Linked DNA regions of Homo sapiens: region 2 is linked to region 1. Evidence: promoter capture Hi-C in human tissues and cell types (Jung and others, 2019). All regions are on one chromosome and are shown on one strand. The core of a region is centred on a gene start or on the middle of the fragment in contact, and the rest is flanking DNA. Distances in the headings are between cores, read along the strand shown. Region 1 holds the start of DNM3 (dynamin 3). Region 2 overlaps SUCO (SUN domain containing ossification factor).

What was found. Contacts are between HindIII fragments. The study calls those that stand out against the background at their distance.
Region 2: a contact is called between a fragment that was not itself captured here and the fragment with the promoter of DNM3 in region 1, in 1 of the 25 tissues and cell types used here (hippocampus).

The regions. Positions count from the first base shown.
Region 1 is chr1:171,839,892-171,843,215 of GRCh38, reverse strand. DNM3 (dynamin 3) reads right to left here and starts at 1,718. Exons shown (of 21, transcript NM_015569.5): 1 at 1,399-1,718. The coding sequence starts at 1,559. RefSeq lists an enhancer at 1,294-1,473 and a silencer at 1,674-1,903. The HindIII fragment of the contact is 5,744 bases long and covers 1-3,324 here.
Region 2 is chr1:172,553,599-172,556,922 of GRCh38, reverse strand. SUCO (SUN domain containing ossification factor) reads right to left here. Exons shown (of 24, transcript NM_014283.5): 4 at 900-1,054. Among named protein-coding and RNA genes, the nearest start is that of SUCO, 22 kb to the right of the region's middle. The HindIII fragment of the contact is 3,711 bases long and covers 1-3,324 here.

The sequences.
Region 1 (3,324 bases), core at 469-2,968:
CTTTGTTAGGCTTCTTATCTTTCTAGTTCATACAGGAAAAAAAATATCATCTGAGAGATGGAATATCATTTGAGAGAAAGGAATATGTACTTTATGAACACTAACATTTCCAAAGGAAATGTGGGAATATTCAGCTCTAAATTCTACACATCACCAAGCACTAACAAAAAAAGAAAAAAGGAACAGAAACAGGAACCTTCTGCATCCCAAGTCACGAATGAGCCAAATAAAAAGAATAAAGTACAATCTCGCCAGCATTTTTTCTTGGATACTGTACATTTCTACCTGGTTTTCTATTACTAGGAAACAGATTTCAGTTTTCATAATGCTTTTAAATGGGCTTTTCTTAGCAAATGTCTGCACTCTTCAGGCAAGGCCATTAAGGTAACTTAATCCCTCATGAATTGCTCAGTGGAAGAAATGCTGATTCCTAATTCGAAAATTAATTCCTTAGCTGTTTCTGTATTAAGAGTCATGAGGAAAACCACAGCTACAATTTAGATTCAGAATGTTGTCTTGAAGGCTAGCAAGACAAATAGGAGCTTAGAGAACGGAAGATGATGCTGGGGGAGGGGGCGCAGAGAGAGTGCGAGAAAGATGCTGGTCAGTTCCGAGATGATGCAGGAATGACATGGCACCTGGACAACATAAGTCCACGTCCACCCCCTGCCAAGTCTGTGCCTCGGGCTCTCTCACAATTGCCTGAAGCTGTGAATAGGTGCACACGCAAACACACCACCTTTTATTCTTCGACTCTCCGGGAGGAGAATGGTGGGGAAGCGTCTCTGGATAAAGCTTCACCACAACAAACGACGTCTTTCTCCTCGCACCCCGCCTCCCCAGCTAGAGGCAGGCAACAGTAGACAGCTGAGAGGAACGAGAACCCTGGCGAGAAGGAAAGCATCTCCACCTAAGGGAGGGGGCTCGGGGGATAAAGCCCCACAGCCTCACAGGGAGCCTCACGGAGGGCGACAGGAAAAGGAGGGGGGTGTTGAGCTGGGAAAACAGGAGAGGGGCACTGGGAAGCTTTCGGCGCGCTACGCAGGGAGGCTGCCCGGGGCTGGCGCGCACCGAGGGGGTGGGGGTCGAGCCCGGGGCGGACCCCTCCCCCGACTCCCCGACTGGAGGACAGGGAGGAAATGGCTTTGTATCGCACGATGAAAGGCAGGCAGGAGGGCCACCAGGCGGGGGGTGGCAGGGGACGGAGGATGCCCAGAGCTGGAGGACCCCGCCCGCCCCACGGACACCGCCACTCTGCCCCCCATTCCACTCTGCCCCCCATTCCACCGCAGCGCCTGGTCCATCCACCCTCTGGCTCCCGCTGCCCGTCCACGTTCCAACGGCCCGCAGCGGGGTCGCCCCACTGCCGCATCCTTACTCCGCGCCCTGCGCGCTTACCTGCCCACGAAGTTCTCGAGCACCGAGCTCTTGCCGGCGCTCTGGCCGCCCACCACGGCGATCTGCGGCAGCTCCAGCAGGCAGCTCTGTCCCAGCGCCGAAAACGCGTCCTGCAGACGGTTCACCAGCGGGATCAGCTCCTCCATCTCCCGGTTCCCCATCTTGCCCGAGGGGCCGGCGACCAGCTGGTCCCTGCTCGCCTCTACGACCTGACAGGGAGTAGGGGCCGCGCTGCCCTGGCTGCTGCTGCTGCGCCGGGCTCAGCCAGCCAGGTCCTGGCGCAGACGTCGGAGCCCGCCGCCAGCCCGCCGCTTGGCTCTGACAGCTAACGACCCGCAGCGCGCCTGCGCGGGCGGGCAGGGGCGTGGCCTATCTCCGCGACGCCCCGCCCCCGCCCCGCGGCTGCCCCGCCCCGGGCTTCCCATCGGACCACCAGGCCAGGCGCGCACGCACTGCAGCCCAGCTGCGGCCAGATGCCACGGCCTCTGCGTTCTGTGGCCAAGGCTCAGAGGCCAAGTTACAGCGCCGGGTCAGGAAATGGCATGAAATCAGCAGCAGCGGCAGCGTTGTTCTCTTTCAGCGGCTACCAAGCCAAAGCCCAGTGGAAAGCACTATCGCCGCTAACACCACCACACGATCACCAGCAACAGCAGCACCGCCGCCGCCACCACCGGGGCACCGCTGCCAGACTACACTTCCCGAAAGGAAATCTCCTCTGTCACGCCCTTCTCCAGAATCCGCGATGACTCCTCCCAGGGTGGCAGGCCTGTTGGAGTCTAAATTCTTCAATGTGACATCCATCTAAGGCCCTGAGTGGTCTGACCTTACTTAATTCTTCATCTGTAATGACTCGTCCTCCCCAGCCCCGCATAAGCACAGGTAGAGTCTGTAGGGTTTACCGCCCCGATACACCCCTTTAATCACTCTGGCCTGTGAGACTCCTCATGCCATTTGCCCTCCCGGTCTATCTCCTTCTACCGGATCTATCCAGAACCAGGTACCCTGGACGCATTCTGTGAAATTTAGCACATTGAGAAGTGACTGTGTGTGGGGTCCTGTGCCTGATGATCGGGACACAAAGATAAATGGCCATGCTTCTCTTAGCCTCCACAGACGGTTCCTTTTTAGTCTGCTCCTCAAATACTGATGCTTCGCAGGGTTTCATATATGGGCATTTTCTTGTCTAATGTTTGTCCTCTGCCTGAGGACTTTCCCATAGCTTTAACTCTGAATCAAGGCTGGCGACTACAGAAATTTACATTGCTAGACCCTGTCTCTCTTCTGCAACTTAGACTGTACTCCAAGAGGAGCCCAGAATACTACCTGAGTGTCCTACAAGTACTACAGACTCAATTTATTCAAAACTGAAGTCATCTTTTGTAATCTCAGCATTTAATGTACAGTTCCTTCTAACTCTAAAAAGACATATTAAAATGTTCATAATGTCAAAAAACCTGAAAACAACCCAAATGTCTATCAACAGGTGAATGAATAAACAAACGTGGTATATATATATAGTGAAATAATCTCTGCCACAAAAAAGACTTTTGATATAGCAACAATCTCAGATACATTATGTAGAATGAAAAAGGCCAAAGACCATATTGGTTTGATTTCATGTATGTGAAGTTCTACAACCAGCAAAGCTATTCTATGGTAATAGAAATCGGAACTGTGGTTGTCTTTGAGGAGTGGAGATTGACTGTAGGAGGCATGAGGAAACTTTCTGGAGTGATGGAAATGTCCCATGTCTTGACTGGGATGTGGGCATACATTTGTCAAAACTCCTCAAACTAAACTTTTAAGTGATGTGCATTTTACTGTACATTACATCTCAACTTTTTTTTAAAGCAGCAGAAAAAGACAAATAAAACTGAATGCATCTCCACTGAAGTGGATCTCTATTAGAATGTCTGCCCAGGAAAC
Region 2 (3,324 bases), core at 254-2,753, 710 kb before region 1:
TAAGGTGTTCTTAGAATTTCGTTTTTAAAATATAAACCTTCCTATTTTTCCCTGCCTCACCTCCATTTCATTAACCAGTCATTTTTAATATAATGGGAGTATAGCATTCACTCTTCAGATATATAGTATCTAGCCTTAAATTCCTTCTGAATCATTTAAATTTAAAAGTTTAAATACTATCATTATTTCTCAACATGTCTTCTGTTCCCTGGCCCATACTGAGACAAGCTTCTAAATGGTAACCATAATATCTTGTGCAACTCCTTCAACCCAGGCCCTTACATTCTTGAGTTATGTACCAGTTATTCTTCTTGCACTTTATTTATGTCAACTCATTTGATAAAGGAAATGCTTAATGTAGTATTAAGAGAAGGACATTTTGTTTTGTTCTTTGGACTGCTGCAGGAAGAAGCTAGGAGAAGTACATAACAAATTTTCTAAATTAAGGATCACTTAAACCTAAACACTCTGAATATTTATTATCGAGTTTGAAAAAGTTAGCGATTCACACGAAGACATAAAAATGAATGAAATGACAGTGATACTTAATGGAAATGAATAACCTGACATTTGAGTTGATAATTATAGGGAATTCAATTCAAATAAGCACTGTTTCCTAAGTAGAACCTTACTTTGCTCAGACTATATAGAGATTTCATATCTGGGATCTATCAGCTTCATTGAGTTAGTTAGCTAAATAAACTTGTTATAAAATCATTACATTCAAAACACACAAACGCATGCACACATACGCACACAAAACACAAGCACTGTAATTTAGGTCTGCTATATAGCCTAAACTTCAAACTTGAGTATCAAGCTGCTTTATCTTTTAAGGAAATTTTTCTATCACTAACTAAGGAGATTCTTTTTTGTGTTTGTTTTTTGTAACAACTTACTCAAGCTTTGAGATTGGAGTGATTTCTGAGGTAGATGAGCTGGAAATATTTTCAACAGTTTCACTGTCCACAACTGCATTGGAAGACTCTTCATGCAAATCAACTGTAGGGAGTGTCTCCACCACCGGTGGACTTAACTTTTTTGACTCTGTATTCTGTTTAAAAAAACAAGTCAGCTAAATTAAATGTTGAGATTAATATAACATCTCTTTAGCAGAACGGGCATTTATGGAAAGCATTTCTGAAAAATGACAATATAAACAATGTTCACTAAAAAAAGTACTTTTATAAAAATCCTTTCTTCCAATATTACCGCCCTAAGGAATGCATTTCATATGAAAATACAGGCCCTAAGCATTTTTCATGGCATTTCATAAACTAGGAAAGCACTTTCTCCCTACCTATTTCCTACTTTGCATCAGGACCTACAGAGATTTCCCTCTTCTCTAATTGATGAATGATAGTAGCAACAAAGAAACCCTATGGACATGTACAAAACAGTACAATACATAGTTCTTGACCCTGAGCAGTTTAGGAAATAATGTGTATCAATAAGCAACGATATAAGATATGTTCAAGTAACACCATGAAGCAATAAATGATTCTTACTGCTCCTTCAGTCTTGAATGACCTGGGCCTTTCAGTCCTCCAAAACACAATGTGAAATCTACCTAACACCTGTTCATATTTGAAAACCTCTATCAGCACCTCCTCCTCCAAGATCAACCCTAAACAGAATTAACTACTCCCTTTCCCCTATGCCTCCAGTGTTCTCTGTACACTTTTATCACTGCATCTATAACAACTCAATTGCCATTATTCATGTCTCCCTCTCTTCTTCAACTATACCATAAATGTCCTCAGTAAGAACTATGTTCTCTTGATCCTCATATTCCCAGTGTCTAGCACAGTATCTAGCGCACAGTAGGTGTTTAAATGCTCAATAAATGAATATCAAGTGAGAGGTACTCATGTTCAGCTCAAGGAAAAAGAAACTAAGGACTATGATGAATTAGAAGAGCTAGGCATTAAAGAAAAGGAGGGCCAGTACAAGAGCACAAACAAACATCGAGGCACGCAGTCCGGAGAATATAAAGTATGATCATTTGGGGAATTATTTACACCGAGAAATTCACAAAAAAATATAAATAGTCATCTGCATTTTTATGATGGAGGCCTTGAGAAAATGACTACTGCCTTATTATCAAATACTATATTACCATATGAACATGTATTCAAAATTTAAAAATTAATGAGATACTTTACATGCTTTTTTTTTTTTTTTTGAGACAGAGTCTCACTCTGTTGCCCCAGGCTGGAGTGCAGTGGCATGATCTCGGCTCACTGCAACCTCCGCCTCCTGGGTTCAAGCAATTCTCCTGCCTCAGCCTCCTGAGTAGCTGAGACTATAGGCGTGCACCACCACACCTGGCTAATTTTTGTATTTTTGGTAGAGACAGGGTTTCACCATGTTGGCCAGGCTGGTCTCGAACTCCTGACCTCAGGTGATCCACTGTGCCCGGCCTACATGCTATTTTTTAATTAAGTCTTCAAAATCCAATGTGTATTTTACACTTACAGTAAATTTCAATTTGGACTAGCCGCATTTCAAGTGCTTAATGGCCACATGTGGCTAGTGGCTACTGTAATGAACAACATAGGTATACAAGACATGGTAAGCACTCGGAAGTATTTGAGCACAACTACATCATAATAAAAGTTTTATGAATAACGGTAGGAGTGTTCAGGATAGTCATACAATTGTAAGGGCTACAAGTATCATTTTTCTCTTACTCCTATGCATAAACCCTTGACAAATGTCTTCCAGAATCCAATAAAATGAAACTAATTCTATTGCTTTAGATAACTCAGTAAGTTATAAAATAGCCCTGGCTCTTGCAAAAAGTACAAGGTTAAAAAATAAAAAATGAAAAAAAAATTAGCCAAGGCTGTATTTTTTTAAAAAGAAAGAATTCTCCCTCATTCTGAGTTGAAATGTGTGTTCTTTTTTTAATATTCGAGATTTTAGTTTTTCCTTAGTCCTTCTGCCTACAGATAAAATATCCCCAGTACCTTCAGCCATTACTGATATTACATGGTTTCCAGATACCTCAGCATTCTGATCAGTTTATGGTGTATATATTCTAGTTTTTAGTATTTTTCATAAAGTCTGGTGCACAAAATAAACAATATTCAGAATGTAATATGAGAGAAAAAGGGAAAAAACATATTTTGATCTATTATCTATTCATACCCACAATAAGTGGAAATCTTGGTTATCAAAATACTCTGTGTTCTACATAAAAATACTCCCTTTTGTTCCAAGTGATTCAGGTTAGAAAAAAATTTCTTAACAACTGAAAATCTGAAGAGACAAGATACATCATAATGAACCAAAATAGAACCGAGGAAGAAATGAGGATTT